Linked DNA regions of Homo sapiens: regions 1, 2, 3, 4 and 6 are each linked to region 5. Evidence: promoter capture Hi-C in 16 types of primary human blood cells and fetal thymus (Javierre and others, 2016). All regions are on one chromosome and are shown on one strand. Each heading gives the region's core, a stretch centred on a gene start or on the middle of the fragment in contact. The rest is flanking DNA. Distances are from core to core; before and after follow the strand shown. Region 1 has its middle 23 kb from the start of IGIP. Region 2 has its middle 17 kb from the start of MALINC1. Region 3 has its middle 13 kb from the start of NRG2. Region 4 overlaps LOC101929719 (a long non-coding RNA gene). Region 5 holds the start of PSD2 (pleckstrin and Sec7 domain containing 2). Region 6 overlaps PURA (purine rich element binding protein A).

Region 1 (2,700 bases), core at 10-2,509, 350 kb before region 5:
CACATCTGCAAAGGCCAGGGCCACAGGAAGAAAGCAGTGATATAAAGCACTTCCCAAAGTCCTAGGCTTGGGCCAAACTACGTATAGCAACTCAAGGGTTAATCCCCACCCCACCCTCATCAGTCTCATCCTAAAGAGAAAAGGAAGCAAAACAGAGACCACGGCTGCCTGAGGTGGCAGGCTGCCTTATCTGTTGTGGCTGCTGCTGGATAACCTGCGGCACTGCCATGGGTACTTGTGTGCCAGCTGAGGGACAGGCATTCCCAGGCGGGCCACCCTGGAGATCCCCCCTGGTGAGATCAAGAGGCATGAGACAGAGGCTATGCCCAAGGACTTAGGCCAGTTGGTGGCCCTGGACACATTTGCTCCTTAAGGCTGAGGCCTGGGTCAAGCTCCCAGCATTGCATAGCACCCTCCTCCCAGCCACCAGCCATGGGTTGGCACCCTGGTGAGGAGCTGGCCCTGCTGAGGGGCCCTGTACCCCTGTTCAGGGAGAACACAGGGATCCTCAGCCTTCTCTGAGCCAGCCTATGGTGGGTGGGCCTTGCAGGGGCTATCTCTTGCCCAGGTACTGGTATTCCCAAGGTGGTCTTTGGCTGCGTGGGTGGCACAGTCCTTACCTGGAAGCAGAGCAGCCTGCCCCACCCAGATCCATGTCACAGTGTAGAGTGGATGAGAAGTCAAAGCCAGGCAGGACCAGGCGTCTGGAATAGCCATTTTGTTGGATGGGTCCCAGGCCCAGGGCTCTGCTGCCCAGGCCCTGCCATTCTTCTGAGGGACAGGGGTGGGGAACTTATCCTAGCCAGGCCTTAAAAATGAGAAGGCCAGCCTGTAATCCCAGCAATTTAGGAGGCCGAGGCAGGCGGATCACGAGGTCAGGAGATCGAGACCATACTGGCTAACGCGGTGAAACCCTGTCTCTACTAAAAATACAAAAAATTAGCCGGGTGTGCTGGTGGGCGCTTGTAGTCCCAGCTACTCGGGAGGCTGAGGCAGGAGAATGGCATGAACCCGGAAGGCAGAGCTTTCAGTGAGCCGAGATTGTGCCATTGCACTCCAGCCTGGGTGATGGAGAGAGACTCTGTCTCCAAAAAAAAAAAAAAAACAAAAAAAAAAAAAAAATGAGAAGGCCAGAGAACCAGTGGAGTGGAGGCTGGGGGTGGGTGGGGTGTGTGAATGTCAATGTGCCAAACCTCATCACTCCTCTCCTAGGAGTTCTTTCATTAAATGCCCCAATCCCAGCTCCTCCTCCCATGGTCCATGGAACACAGAAGGCTGGGACTCAGCGGCCGCACAAGCCTGAAGCCCCACCCCTTAGCTGGCCTGAAAACTTCAGTCAGTGACCATGCGGGGCACTAGAACCTCCTGCCACCAATCAACAGGAAGCAAGGAGAGATGCCCGGGTATCCTCAGAGAGGGAGGGGCCATGCAGAGGGGCTGGCAGATTTTCTCGGTGTGGGGAATGAGGGATAGGGCACAGGAAGGGACGTTCTCAAGGGTCTAGGGTCATGTTTCAGGAGGAAGATAAGCACCAAGCCAAGTTCTACCAGGTATATGCCTGGCTCCTGCACCTCCCATGGTCCTTCCCATTCAGCCGGGCTTCCTGTCTCCTGGCCTTTCTATAGGTGCTCAAAGCATCCTGTGATTCTCTTTATCATGGCTTATAATTCTCTGCTTGCCAAGTGGTTTGATTAATGTCTGTGTCCCCTATAAACCATGACTCTACACGGTGGCATTCTAAGGATGGCAGAATCCCCAGAATCCTATACTTGTCTTCATCGCTGTCTACCTAAGAACTTAGCACTCCCCAGGGCGTAGCACACAGTAGGTGCTCAGTGTACATTTTAGTGAATGAATGAATAAAGGAATAAATTTCCCCATCAACCACCATGAGCTCTAGGAGGGCAGTAATTGCTTCTTGTTTGTTTTTGCATCCACAACCCGTGGCCTGGTGCCTGGCACAAAGTAGGTTCCCATTAAATTGTGTGGGATACTCACAATTTGGGTATCTCTCCTGGGAAGAAAGGGGTCCCTGGCAGGGATAAGGAGAAAAGGCAGTGCTAACTGGAAGAGGGTGAGAGGTGAGGTTTGGGTGGCTGAACTGGGGTGCTCTTCCAGACAGGTTTGGGTGAATGGGGAAGCTCTGTGGGAGCCACTCCTGGTAAGCACTCACCTATGAGAAAATTTGAGGAAGACACAATACTGCAGCAAGGTAGTAGTCTAAGCCAGAGCCAGAGGCCATGGCCACACAGGCTATTCCCCCACCCCATTCCCAGAGCCTCCTAAGGGTGGGGACAGGAGCAGGGCTCCAACAAGTGCCACTCTTTAGACCTGAGGGTCTTGTGGTCATGTGAGGCTCTGGACTTCAGGTCACTCCTTGCCTTTGCAGGGCCAGGGAGTCTAAGACACATACGGGAACTGAAGGACAGAGGGAGTGGGTGTGGGGTCTTGCCCTGGGCTTGGAGTAGATCCCCTGTACTGTCTGCAGAGTGTCAGTGCTGTGTCCTGGGAGATGAGGCTCCCCTTGGGGATGCAGAGTCACTGAGGGCCTCTAAACATGGGATCAATTGCTGGGTCTATTTTTGATGTCTGGATGAAGTAAGGAGGAAATAGTCTCCTAGGACCCAGGTTCCAGATGCTAAAGAAAGTTAATGTCTGGAGTTTGCAACCCAGTCCCACACCTCAGAGTCTGAAAGACAC
Region 2 (2,700 bases), core at 107-2,606, 300 kb before region 5:
CCGAGATTGTGCCACTGCACTCCAGCTTGGGCGACAAGAGTGAAACTCCGTCTCAAAAAAAAAAATCTGAATATATAAGTAGAAATAAAAAGGAATTTCACTAGAAGACAGCAAAAGAAAAGAGCGCCTAATAAAAATAAATGAAATACACATGCTACAACATGGTTAGACCTTAAAAACATACTATGTAAAATAAGTCAGTCACAAAAGACCAGATATTGTATGATTCCATTTATGTGCGATGTCCAGAATAGACAAATATAGAGAGACAGAAAGTAGATTGGTAGTTCCCTAGGGCTCTAGGGTTAAGGTAGGGTTGGGGGTGATGGCTGGGTGTGGGGTTTCTTTTGGAAGTAATGAAAATATTCTAACATTGATTGTGGTGGTGGATGCAAAACTAAATATACTAAAGCCATTGGATTGTACACTGAAAATAAATGAATTGTATGGTATATGAATTATATCTTTAAAAAGCTATTTTAAAAAACACTGCAGCCTTTGTCTTGAGCTCTCTCTTCTCTCACTTGTTCTGAGGGAAGTCAGCCTCCTGGTCTTGGGGACACTCAGGCAACTTGCCTATGGAAAGGCTTTCATGGCAGAGGACTGAGATTTCCAGCCAACAGCCAGCAAGCAACTGAAGCTTGCCAATAACCTTGTAAATGATGTTTGCTAATCTGTTGGTGGAAAGTAGTAACTTATTAAAGTTTTAACATGCTGTTTTCTAATTTAAGTGATATTAGGCATATTTTAACATGTTTAAAGATATTTGTATGAGGAAGACAAGAAATAAAAACACAGACTCCATATTCAATGACATTAGGAAACATCTTTAACCCGAAGGCATAGTATATGAAGGCTAAAAGTGGATGGAGAAATGAAAAATGACTTAGCAAGGCAGAGGAAATTCAAACCTAGGTACTGCAGAGGAAGAGAACACCAGCAAGAAGCACACTAATTTGTCTTATGGAACCTCAGAAAGCCACAGCAGGTGAAGTATATGTGCAAGGAGGGAAGGGGCTGAAAGGGGCTGGATTATTGGAAGGTCTATATAAGGATCAGATAGGACCCAGATCCTTACTCCTACTTCCACCCCAAATAGACACTTTCCTCTCTTTCCCCATACAGGAGACAGAAGGTATCTTCTTTGGAAAAATTGAACTAGAAAGGATGTGGACTTGGGTATATCAGGCTCTAAGGAATGGGTATGAAAACAAGGATATGGTATAAAAACATAAAACTGAACTCTAAAGCAGAATGTTATGCATTTTTCCTGACCCAGCTTCAGAAAGCTAGCAGCCAGACTGTTGCTATCCCTAGGGAGGAGATAAGAGGATCCTTCTCTGGAGAAACTGAATTGATACAGATTAAATATTTTCATGTACATCAGCAGCTTCATAGTATAATAGAATTCGTTACATATTTAGAATGTAACCACCTCTCACCACATTCACTACTGCCATCCTGAATACCAGCCACCATAATTTCTTACTTGTACTGCTGCAGCATTCTCCTATCTCGTCACTTGCTTCTACCTTTATCCCTGGAGTCTGTTCTCAACCTAGCAGTCAGAACAGTCTTTTTATTACAGAGCCCAGATCATGTCATGCTTCTATTCAAAACCTTCTAGTGATAATAGGTCTCAATCAGAATAAAAGCCAATGTCCTTACTATGGCCTACGGGTCATATATGATTTGTTTCCTCTGCCCTCCTCCTCTCTGATCTTGTGTTCTTCTAGTCTCCAATTTGCTTACTCTAGTCCAGCCATTTCAGTGACCTTAGGAGAATGCTAAGCACTCTCCCAGTTCTGGGCCTTTGCATTTGCTTTTCTCTCTACTTGGAATGAGTTTCCCCCAGATATTCCCTTGGCTAGCTTTCTTACCTCCTTTAGATCTTGCTCAAGTATAATCTTAACAGAGAGGCCTTCCCCAGTCACCTATATTAAATAGCATCCTTCCCATCATTCTCTTTTAGCCTGCTTTATTTTCTTCATAGCACTTATCACTACCAGGTGTTATTATTTATTTGCTTAATCATTTGTTGTATATCTCCCTTGATGAAAATGTAAGCTTTTGAGGGCAGAGATTTTTTCCATTTTGGCTCACTGCCATATCCCAAGCATCTAGTATAGCACCTGGCACATAGTAGGTGCTTAATAAATAATTGTCGGGATGAATGAATCAATAAATCACTCAAAAGAGAAGGTAATATACTTTTCTCTTTTGATTGTTAATATGATTATCACAATAAGTTTCCTAATGTTGAACTATCCTTGCATTCCTGATATGATCTCACTTGGTCTGGTGTTTAATTCTCTTAAGATGTCACTGAATTTTGTTTGCTAGTATTTTAGTTACTATTTTCCATCATTATTCTTAAGTAAGATTTCTCAGTAGCATTTATTTAGTTGTGATACCTTTATCAGATTTTGTTCTTACATCTATGTTGGATTAAAGCAAAGAAGCATCTTTTGTTTTTCTTCTCAAGGCAGCCAATATTATCTTCCTGGAAGAAGAGAGGAGTTTGCTCTAACTTAAAGAACCAGGATTGGCTGGGCACAGTGGCTTATACCTGCAATCCTAGCATTTTGTGGGGATGGCTTGAGCCCAGGAGTTTGAGACAAGCCTGGGCAACATAGCAAGAACCCATCTCAAAAAAAAAAAAAAGGACCAGGATTATTTCAGTCCTTATTTTTCTACAAT
Region 3 (2,700 bases), core at 137-2,636, 260 kb before region 5:
TGTATTTTCACTGTTCAATACAGTACCCATTAGTTACATATGATGACTGAATGCTTGAAAAGTGGCTAGTGCAAATGAGAAACATAATTTAAAACTTTATAGTTAATTTTAGTTACTTACAACTAAAATATAAATAGCCACATGTGGTTGGTGACTACCACATTGGACAGCAAAGCCTGGTGTCTCACTTGTAGCTCATGGAATTCTGCTCCTCTTTTTCTCTAGATGATGAAAAACCTGAGCTGATGGACAATGCCCGTAAGTGTATTGTGATATTGCAGCTCAGGTTTTTCATTAATGTAATTACTACAAATAAATACTATATGATAGTACTTAGTAGTGTACTATAAGATAGTAAATATCATATAATATTTATTTGTAGTAATTTGATTAATGTTGTATCCCTCACTGGATCGCAGGCTTCTTAGGAGTAAGGACTTTGTCTGCTTTTTCCTCACTTTTATATTATGCCCGGCACCTAGTACAGTATCTGGAACATAGTAGGTGCTCAATAAAGATATGAGTAAATGAATGAATTAAAGAGTATCCAAACATCTTTGATATAAATGAGAAATGAGGACTCCACTATCTGCTGTGTGTGTGTGTGTGTGTGTGAGAGAGAGAGAGAGAGAGAGAGACAGAATGAGAGAGAGATTGATTCTGGAGAAGAATCTAAACATATGGAGAGGAGACAAAGACCAGGTTATTAAAGAGAAATATAATTGATTGCATAATACTTCAGAATCAGAAAATTGGCTTTATTAATAGTAAGACTCTTATTAAGCATTTACTATATGGCAGACTGTACCCTAAGTACTTTACATGAAGTATCTCATGTAATCCTCATAAGCTAACACTGTAGAATACGTACTATTATTATCCCCATTTTACAGATGATATGGAGGATGACAGGAGTAATTTGCTGGAGGTCACACAGCTAGTAAGTAGTAGAACATGCATTTAAACCCAGGCAGTCTGGGTTCAGAGCCTACCTTCTTAACCACAATGCTGTATTGCCTTCTGTTTGATTATGTCCATATGGTGACAGAAGCTTAGTGACCTCAAATGTCTGCATCAGTTCTTTTGTCTAAATTTAAGCTTCGGTAAGCCAGTATCTCCTGGAGGTTTAGCCTCTTTCCAGTGGTGCACGTGGAGGGGAGGTGGGAATAGTAGTATAAGGATAATAGGATATGAAAATCTGTACTGGATTCTTTTTTCTCAAAGAGTCAAACAAATATTTTTATATCTAGGATTTTTTGCCTTCTAATAATAAGGGGAAAATAAAGGCTTCTCTTGAATAAAACAAAATGCAAAATAATATCTCCCCCTTTTCCAAATCTCTGGTCTAGTAAGAGAGATGAATGAAAGCTAAGAGTTACTGTTATCTTCGTATGAATGAGAGTTTTACTTCGCTTTCCCTCTCCCCTTCCCTCCTCTCTATCATAAATTTAGTGCTCCATAAATAGTCCAAGGTTGGCATTCCTATTTAGGTGCTTCTTTGTTTCATGTAAGAATAGCTTATCTTCCTGCGCTAGTTATACTGTTTGCCCCCAGACTCCCACCCATCAGATTCACTCTTTGCCCTTCCCTGTCCTGCCTGGAACCCTGTACATTGACCTCTGTGGGTTCCCTCATCCTCTGGCTTCTGACTGTGGTTCATTCAGCAGAAGCTTGGCATGGGGGTAGGAGGAAGAGCAGAAAGGAGAGACTAGATTGTTTCTTCCCCCTTCTTTCTCCCTACTTTAGTGCCACATTCTTGCAGGAGCTGCCTGACGGCCCCTTCGATGTGGCTCCAGTACTTACTGGGATCTGGTGACACTTCTTCTTCACCTCACCCCTGTATGTCGAGGGAAGGGAATGTTTTACCACTCTTGCAGGCCCCTGGGTGTCTCTACTGAGTCTTGTTTCCCTTAACTTGGCCCACATCTTTGTAGATAGTCCCTTTAATAAGTTATTTTCAGTAAACTGTTTTGAATAGAATAGTATTTCCTGCTTGGGACTCTGCCTGATACATTTTGCCTCTAGTGGTTTTCAATTTTCTTAATGGCTGGAAGATGTACTTCCAAATAGATATAAGATTAAATAGGTCTCAGGTAGATTGTTCCACAAACTGGATTTTGAGATTGTGTCGCTTCGTTTCCAACATTGTTCAGGGGAGAGATAAGCTGAATGTAGCAAGCATGTGTACCCTGTTACATGTATCAGAGATAGCTCATCAGGCTTTTTTTTTTTTTAACACCTTGAATGAAATGAACTCAAGATTATTCATTCCCTTTGCCCAGAAACTCTGATCATCGAGCAATCTTGTGATTACTAAATTGGTTTCCTAGGTATTGTGATCCAGAGAAAGGGGTATCTTGTAGGGTGGACACCAACAGTTCAGATCGTGGAAAAGTTTAATCCTCTCTTATATTAGTCAAATGGATTTCTTTAAAGAAAAAAAGGAAGAATACAGTGTCCCTTCTTCCCCTTCCACATGCATACCACCTTTTTCCTTTCCAGCTTGCATTCCTCTTTTCTCTCTCTTTTTGGTTTTTGTTTTCGCTTATGGCTTCAGCCCTGTGTTAAAATGAAGATTCCATTACTCAGCTCTATAAACTAATCTGTATCCATTCTTCTATACTGTGCCCATGGTCTGTCTTCCTTCCTGTTTTGATAAAAGAATAATTTTTCTTGTCAAAGACCAGCTCCTCTCTTTGT
Region 4 (2,700 bases), core at 129-2,628, 370 kb before region 5:
AAATCAACCTAGAAGAAGAATACATTTTTCTCCCAGGCTGTGAGTCAAATGACTATGGCAATGAAGTTCCGTCAACTATGAAGCATCCTTCTGCTTTTTAATCTTTTCAGTAATTAAGAAAATAAATTCAACACATATAAATTAGAAATAATCAGCTTATAAGTCTATTTGCATTTATATTTTTAAAATGGACCGATGACTTAGCACATGACATAAGAAAATAAGTCAGGGAAATATTAAATCCACATATTCATTCAACACATTTACTGAGGGCCTATGGCCTACCATGTGCCAGGGACTGCTCTAGGCCCTGGGGATGTAGAAATAAGCAAAACAGATTTTTTAAAGTCCTTGTGCATATGAAGCTTACATTCTAGTAGGTGTGTCCATTTATATACAGTCTTCAAGTCTCTGTGCCATTGACAAGAACTAGTACTATATACCAGGAAGCATGCATGGCGAATCCTCAGATTCCTCTATGCTAGGCTTTCTGCCAGTGCTCTGCATACATCATCTCATTATTCTCTTCTTCCTAAGAGATGTAGACACCTGTTCAAGGAGCCACAGGAAATGAGTGGTAGGGTCAAGACCAGAACACCTATATCTATATCTGCCTTTTAGCTCATATTTTCTCTTGGGGTGTGGTTGCGGGGGATGGTGGGAAGTGGTAGGGACTGAGGCATATCAGATAACATGCTCTGTGCAAAGGGAGCACTACTCATTCAGATCCAGCCACTTGACATTCAGGAATATAACTCAATGTGGCCAAGTTTTCTGATTTTTCAAGAGAAGCCAGCAAACAGGATTTTGACATGAAAACCAATTTCAAAATACCATGAAAGCCAAACCAAATTTGTCTGGGTACAACTAAGGCTACAGATCTGCCCCTCTGTTAGAGGTCATGCTGTGACCAGGAGGGTGCCTGGGGAGGTAGGATTCCAGATAGCAACCTTGAAACTAGTTGGCCAGCCGGGCACAGTGGCTCATGCCTGTAATCCCAGCACTTTGGGAGTCCAAGGCAGTTGATCATTTGAGGTCAGGAGTTCAAGACCAGCCTGGCCAACATGGTGAAACACCATCTCTACTGAAAATACAAAAAATTAGGTGGACGTGGTGGTACACAACTGTAATGCCAGCTACTCGGGAGGCTGAGGCAGGAGAATCACTTGAACCTGGGAGGTGGAGGCTGCAGTGAGCCAAGATCATGCCACTGCACTCCAGCCTGGGCAACTCTATCTCAAAAAACAAACAAACAAAAAACAACGAAAAACCCCAGAAACTAAATGTGTGTAGAAAACTGCAAATACATCTGTGGTACTTACACAAAGTGTTTCTCAGGTTGATTTTCAAAGACTAAGGTAGAAAAATGGGGCCCTTATTTACCAAAAAAGCAAAGTCCTTTAATGAAAGCTACCAGGGAGGCAGCAGCTGGGGCGCTCCAACACCTAGCCATGGAGGAGGTTGGCATGGAACCATCTGATGCTGGGCTGACAGGCCACGCTTCTCTGAAAAGGAAAATTTAACTTCAGGGTGGGCTTCATGTTACATCTGAGGCCCTAATAATGATCATTATGCTGTCAGCACACAAGACATGGTTCAAAAAAATTCTCCTCCTTAAAGTCACATTCTATGTGCTTTCTGGTCCTTCCTAACCTCCTCCACCCTGTGGCCTCCCACACTCAACACAACTTTCCTTTTCCCCACCCACTTGCCAAGGAACTGCGGCCATCAGACAACATATGGAGGTCTCATCACCGGGATGGTCCGTAACTGGAAAGGAGTTGGTCATCTGGTGTTAGCAGCTCCTCTTTGTGTCGTAGCCTTTGGAAGGAAAGAGGGAGGAACACAGAATAGCGTCCATGTTTAAAAAACATTTGCACCATCAACAGACTGAAACTCTACAAGACAGTGGTCTTACTTTAAAAGTGTAAAGGAATTCCCATCCTCTTGATCTTAGCAAGATCAGAAAACCTCTGTTTACTACAAGAATTGTTTCAGAAAGGGAAGTGAAATCTGGCACATGAAAAATCCCATTTCTATCCACTCTCAAGATAGTAACTTTGTAGCCATATGCCATGTGTATTTCATCATAGCAAAACAGTACTGTAGTGCACTGGGGACAGATTTGCTGCCACTGCTGCTGCTGCTGCTGCTGCTGCCATCACCACCTCCACCACCTCCTTCTGTTGCTTGGATAAAGCTGAGGCATGTGGCACTGTTGTGAGATTCTTAGAAGATACAGGCAAGTAGTCCTGGCTAGGACCCTACAATTGAGTTTGCACCATGAGGCTCTAAATCTCAGCCTCTCTAGGTCCTGGTACTGTATCTTTGGAAGACACACACAGGAAGGACTTAGATACCTTCTGAAAAAGATGGGACAAAGAAAGCTTATACTCCTCCTCTCCCCTCCTCTTGCTTGGAAGATCATTTAAGATTAAGAGATGAAGTGACTTTTCCCACTGAAGGGGACACAGGGCAATGCTATGATTCGGAGTGTCCAGAGGCCTGTGTTCCAGCCATGGTTCCCCTATGTCCTCACCTTGGGACCCAGCACTACTTACTCCACCTTTTTGAGTCTCAGTTTCCCCATCTAAGAAATGGGAATAATAATAGGACCAACCACATAGAGCTGTTGTGAGGGTTAATTCATTGAGATGCTGAATGGTAAGAGAGGCTTCCTTTGCACAGAGCTTGTTCTCT
Region 5 (2,700 bases), core at 4-2,503:
TTGGAGGCAGTCCCAGCCCAGTGAACCCCCCCACCCCCAACCACTATTAAGCAGCTCTTGTTTGTAGGATCTAGAAAAAGGAACTGGGGAACCCAGGAAAGTCCAAACCCAGGCTGCCCACCTGCCCTGGCCAAATCCTGAGCCCTCTCGCTGATCCCCATCAAATTCAGCCTGGCTTATCCCCAGGCTGCCAGGAGTCTTAGGCCCTCTTCCATTGTGACTGCTGCTTCTGCTCCCTGTTCTCTTCCTGGCCCCCCCAAGATGGCCCCAAGACAAAGGGGTGGGCTTGAGACAGTGGCCCCCTGGGCCTATGCAAAAACAATGCCCCCAGTGATCATTCCGGGGAGTCCCTGCATCCTCTAGGAACAGCTGAATACCTCCTCCTCCGAGGGGGCCCGCTGGGCAGGGTTGTCCCCAGTCTGGACTCCCTCTGCACCCAGCCCCAGCAGCCCGCTCCTGGGACCCCTCCCTCCCGCTGCCGCCTCGGCCATTATGTGCCTCCTCAGCCCTGACTGCCACGCCCCCGTGCGAGCCCCCGCTCTAGCTGCAGAGCCGGGGAGGCCTGGCCGCCAAGCAGGGCTGTCAAAGTTGGGAAACTGGAAACAGAAATAAATCCTCAAAGCTGCAGCCTCGTGAAGGTGGCTGCCGGCAGGCCCCGGTACCCAATGCCCCGATCCCCGACCACCAGGCTGCCACTGGCACCCCCCACGCACACGCGTACCCCCAGATTATACAAAAGCGGGGAGAGGGTAGTGGGTGGCGGAGCCGGGAGACAATCGGCCCGGCAGCCCCCACCGTCCCTCAGGCTGGGCTCGGGCTTTCCCGCGGCGCCCCCTCTCCCCGGCCCAGACCCGGCCAGCCCGGGCTTCCTCTCTCGGCCCCATCTCCATGACAACCGTATCCTTCGGATGCTCCAGACGCCGCGGAATTGATCTGGAAATGTAGCTTTGTTAGCGGACCCGGGTGGGCACCGAGGGCGAGGGCGACGCCCCCCACCCGCACGCGGCCCTCTCCCCGGCCCGTCCCGCCCCGGCCTGGCCGCCAGCGGGGAGGGGCGGGTCCCGGAGCCCCGCGGCCCCACTCACCGCTGCTGGTCCCCGCCGCGGGTCCGGCCTCTCACGGCGGGGCCATCGGAGGCCGCCGGGCTGCCTGTCCCGCCCCGCCGCCGCCGGTCGGAGCTGCCCGCGCCCGCCCGCGTCCCTTCAGGTGCCGGAGCCGCGATGTGGAGAGGCTGAGCGAGGGGGACGGACGGCAGGAGGGAGGGAGCGGAGCCGTGAGCTGGAGGAGGAGGAGGAGGGAGGAGCGGGAAGGGCGGGGAAGGGCGGGGGCACTGCGGGCGCGCGAGCGGCGGGCGCGGAGCCCGGAGGGAAGCGCGGCCCCCAGCCCTGTCCGCTTGCAGCGCAGCGCTCGCCCCGGGACCCCGAGCGTGCCGGGGAGAGCGCGGCCCACCTTGTCCCCCTCTGCCCCGCGCGGGCCCTTTAAGAAAGGGGGGGAGGGGAGCGCCCGGGGTTCTGCCCCCTCCTAGCCACGCTGGGCCCCTGCCGTCCTCGAACCCTCGGGCAGACCCAACCACCTCCGCCCTCCAGGCAGGACCCACCGGTCTAGAACCTGAGCTCTCGGGACCCGCCAGGCCCTGGAGGTGAAGGAGGGGGCGGGTCCTGGCCCTCCTCCCGCGGTCTGTTCAGGGAGTGACCCCTGCCCCCAGCCCCCCGACACACACGCCAGCCCCCGGGAGACGCCGCCAAGGGAGGAGCAGGGAGTGCGGGGGGCCAAGGTGAAGAATCTCAGAGAGGGAGACTGAGCCCCTGAGACCTAGAGTCACACGGGACGGGACGGAGACCTGGGCTGTGGGGTGAGAAGGAGCCTCGGGACAGAGTGGGATGGGAGGAGGCAGGAGAGAGGAGAAAGAGACAAAGGAGAAAGAACCTGAGGGAGGCGGGAGGTGAGGGGTGGGTCCAACCAAGAATCCACATCCCTGTGCCAGGTCAAGGGGAAGCCTCCCTGGGCAGATATAAGGAGACAGAGAGAGACAGAGGGTGCCCTGGGCAGAGGAAACCATCTCCCAAGGCACCTGTCCCACGGTGTCTCCCCAAGGGCAAGTCAAGGCCCTGAAGCCGCCCCCCTCAGCCCAGGACTCTAACTGAAGAAGAGGGTTGACTGGCTGTACCTGGGCTAGACATTAAGAACTTCCTGGCTGTGAGGCACCTGCAGAGTAAGAGTCCGCCTCTCAGAGAGGCATTAAAGGGCCCCCACCCACAGGGATCTAAGGAGGGCGTGGGGAGCAGGCCCAGTGCCTGGGAGAAGGGAAATCAGGATAGAGTCAGGCCCTGCCACTGGAGGCCACTTTCTACCCCTCTCCCCTACTCCAGCCCCTGGGGGGTTCACCACACCCAGTTGCTTCCATCTCCAGACCTCAGCAGATGATCCACACTCTGCCCGGTGGGGCCTTGATCCTGCTGTGCTCAGTGAACTCCTACTGAACCCTCAAATTCCTCCTTAAATGCCCCTTCCTTCATGAAGTCTTCTCTGACCTTCTTTCCACCCATGAACACACAAACATGGACTCTTCTTAGGGAGCAGGAAGAGGATTTGCTGACCTCTTAGGGTGGCAGTAATTGGAGGTGTGGAATCTGAGCTGTGCGTAGTCTCCCTCCCTTCAAGCTGGGCAACAGCAGGAGCTGGGACTTCATCAACCATGGT
Region 6 (2,700 bases), core at 120-2,619, 330 kb before region 5:
CTGACTAGACTTAAGCCTTTCAAGGACTTGTCTCACAGTCATTTAAATCACAAGTTCTTGACACAGGTTTGGGAATTCACTTCTTTTTAAACAAATTTCTAAGGGAGGGGCTATTTAAGAAGGCTTTGCATTGACTTAAATGAGTTATAGTATATAACTATTATAATTTAAAATCTGACACAATAAAATGTGAAAATTATACTAAAGTGCCAACTCTACAAAATAAGCTATAGTAAAAATAATCCTGCTATTGTTAATGAACCTGACATTCGTAAAAAAGAAAAATTACCTTCAAAGTACAAAATCAGAACCACTTTTTTGCTATTTTTAAAAGAGATTTTTATCACTAATATATAGAGATGTGAGTAAAATGAAACTTCAAAGTAATCTGTCCAAATCACCAGGAATAAATCCATACTAAATTTGACAACAAAGAGTTAATCCAAACATACTTGAATTATGTAACTTAAAAACAAACATTACAGTAATTATTTATCTTAAATAATTTAAAACACTACTGGAATAATGGGAACAGAAATCTAAACACTATCAGCTTACCCTACAAAGGATATAAGAACCTCCAAAATGTACTAACTTATTTTATTAACATTTGCCACCACTGAACTCTTGGGAATACTACAATTTTAAAGTAAGAGAGAAAGTAGGGAAACAGAAACATGAGTTTGGGGGGTATGTTGTCTAATTTTAGAAATACAGTATTATTGAGGGCCTCATAAGGTCTACAAGGTTAAATGGTTGCTACGGATGCAAATGTAAAAGAAATAAAAAAGACACCTAAAATTGCAAGTTAGTGTTTTTACCTGGTTTATTGTCTTCTAAGAAATTTGTGTGGGCCAAAGTCTCAAAATTCTATAAAAGCAAGGAATAATATGTGTCTTTGTGGAGTACAAAATCAAATAATTTGATCTAAGGACCATTTGAAAAGTAAAGGTAAACTACATTGTAACAAGAGCCCAAGAAAATAGATAGTATGTGTGATAAATATTTCTGATAGTTTAAAAAGAATAATGGTGAAAAGCTTGAAATTTTCTTTTCCTCAAAATAATAACTCCCCAGCATCCACTTGCCTTGACCAGAAAAGCTGTCATTCCACAATTGTGCTAATTTGTCCCAGAAAAGCAGACATCCTATACATGAAAACAGACTTGTATAATGCATGATCATTATCATAACTCTAGCTATAGTAACTAACAGCTTTCTCATAATCAATGAGGGACCCATTTTCTCTGGCTTTATTGAAACTTCCTTAGTGAAGATCAACTTCATTTCCTTAGCAAATAACTCTCATTCGGACTCCATCATAGTACCTTTTCCTACCTCTAGTAAAAATTCCTCTCACTTTATTTCCAAACCATTCTCTATATACCTCTCAAACCCCCATCCACAAACACATTAAACAGCTCTCCTCGTCCTACTCTCCAATTTCCAAACCAGTAAGTCTCAGTTCCCAGTAACTTACCTAAAATACACATACTTCTTACTCTCTTCAGTTCACAAGTTTCTTAACATTAATTTAGATACCTTCAAACTGCCAGCTTAAGACTATGGGGAAAATAGCAATCAGAAAAAAACTGCCCAGTTACCTCATAATACTGAAATTGTTCTGGATCATCAGTTAGCTATGTTCTAAGGCAGGAGTCAGAAATTTCTTTACTTCTCTCTGAAGAAGTAAGCTTGAGTGCCACTGGTAGGCCTACAGCAAGAGTAAAAGTGGAGAGAGAAACAAAGAAAAAGGATAGGAGAGAGAAGATGCCAGATGTACATGGTAAGGAGGTAGGTCAAGTACCACCACCAACTACCTGCATTTAAAATTGCCAATCCACTCCAGCTGAATGGGAGTTTGACCCAAACTCAACATGTGTCTGATAAGTCATTAGCTGATGGCTATCATTGTTTGAGCTAGTCAAGATGAATAGGTAATTCACCTGTCCCATAACTTTAACTGCCACTTCACGATAAGGACATATTTTCTTAAATCCTCCTAGGATCCTTCTGTGTTAATAATCTACCTTAGACCAAAACACACACTAACAAGAGTATTTCCATGTTTTTCACAATTCTAAAATAGAAGGACTTGGTCCTTGAACTTGGAGGCCTCTTGAATTATTAAAGTGGAACCAAAATCAAGAAAATTAAACTCTTTAGCTTAAACATTTTTCCATCTAATGCTACAAAATAAGCTAATTGCTAATAATTATCAAAACAATGTGTGTATTTATGAAAACATGAAAATCCTGTGATTCCAAAATGAGTGAAATACTTCTGATGTGTAAGAAGCAACTATATTTTACATAGAGGATCACCACCATGTTTCTGCCTATCAACAGGACAATCTTCCACAAAAGCAAAGGACATCAGGAAGGAAAAACACAAAACAAAACAAATACCAAACGTGGGGACAAAATAAAAATGAATGAGTAGTTATGACATTCTTGTTAAGAAAAATGTTAACAAGTGACCTTTGCCACACTCAGCTTTCCTAAAGACATAAATTGCCTGGACCATTCAACATCAAAACTTGGTAGTTAGCTTAGCAGATTCATTGGCTTGAAACCAATCATTATTTCTTATTTCATCTGGTTGTTCTTTTATCATGAAATTCTACCTGACTCATGCTAATTCTGGCTTATTTTCACTTAGCCTGTAATGAAATTTCTGTTCAAAAAGGACGTGTCAAAT

What was found. Contacts are between HindIII fragments. The CHiCAGO score rates a contact against its expected background, and 5 or more counts as called.
Region 1: a fragment that was not itself captured here is called in contact with the fragment with the promoter of PSD2 in region 5 in 6 of 17 cell types (neutrophils, M1 macrophages, M2 macrophages and 3 more); the score reaches 7.8 in neutrophils.
Region 2: a fragment that was not itself captured here is called in contact with the fragment with the promoter of PSD2 in region 5 in 1 of 17 cell types (endothelial precursors); the score reaches 5.0 in endothelial precursors.
Region 3: a fragment that was not itself captured here is called in contact with the fragment with the promoter of PSD2 in region 5 in 2 of 17 cell types (M0 macrophages and M1 macrophages); the score reaches 5.3 in M0 macrophages.
Region 4: a contact is called between a fragment that was not itself captured here and the fragment with the promoter of PSD2 in region 5, in 5 of 17 cell types (endothelial precursors, M1 macrophages, neutrophils and 2 more). The highest score is 8.5, in endothelial precursors.
Region 6: a contact is called between a fragment that was not itself captured here and the fragment with the promoter of PSD2 in region 5, in 1 of 17 cell types (erythroblasts). The highest score is 5.3, in erythroblasts.

What each region holds. Positions count from the first base shown.
Region 1 is chr5:140,147,379-140,150,078 of GRCh38, reverse strand. No RefSeq gene overlaps it. Among named protein-coding and RNA genes, the nearest start is that of IGIP, 23 kb to the right of the region's middle. The HindIII fragment of the contact is 3,283 bases long and covers 1-2,700 here.
Region 2 is chr5:140,089,933-140,092,632 of GRCh38, reverse strand. No RefSeq gene overlaps it. Among named protein-coding and RNA genes, the nearest start is that of MALINC1, 17 kb to the left of the region's middle. The HindIII fragment of the contact is 1,427 bases long and covers 643-2,069 here.
Region 3 is chr5:140,054,558-140,057,257 of GRCh38, reverse strand. No RefSeq gene overlaps it. Among named protein-coding and RNA genes, the nearest start is that of NRG2, 13 kb to the right of the region's middle. The HindIII fragment of the contact is 572 bases long and covers 1,101-1,672 here.
Region 4 is chr5:140,166,486-140,169,185 of GRCh38, reverse strand. LOC101929719 (a long non-coding RNA gene) reads right to left here. Exons shown (of 5, transcript NR_130738.1): 3 at 1,713-1,821; 4 at 1,384-1,505; 5 at 401-549. Among named protein-coding and RNA genes, the nearest start is that of CYSTM1, 7.4 kb to the left of the region's middle. The HindIII fragment of the contact is 2,022 bases long and covers 368-2,389 here.
Region 5 is chr5:139,794,361-139,797,060 of GRCh38, reverse strand. It overlaps PSD2 (pleckstrin and Sec7 domain containing 2), which reads right to left and starts at 1,253. Exons shown (of 15, transcript NM_032289.4): 1 at 1,086-1,253. RefSeq lists a silencer at 1,535-1,734. The HindIII fragment of the contact is 8,840 bases long and covers 1-2,700 here.
Region 6 is chr5:140,120,588-140,123,287 of GRCh38, reverse strand. It overlaps PURA (purine rich element binding protein A), which reads right to left. Exons shown (of 1, transcript NM_005859.5): 1 at 1-2,700. Among named protein-coding and RNA genes, the nearest start is that of IGIP, 4.0 kb to the left of the region's middle. The HindIII fragment of the contact is 655 bases long and covers 1,042-1,696 here.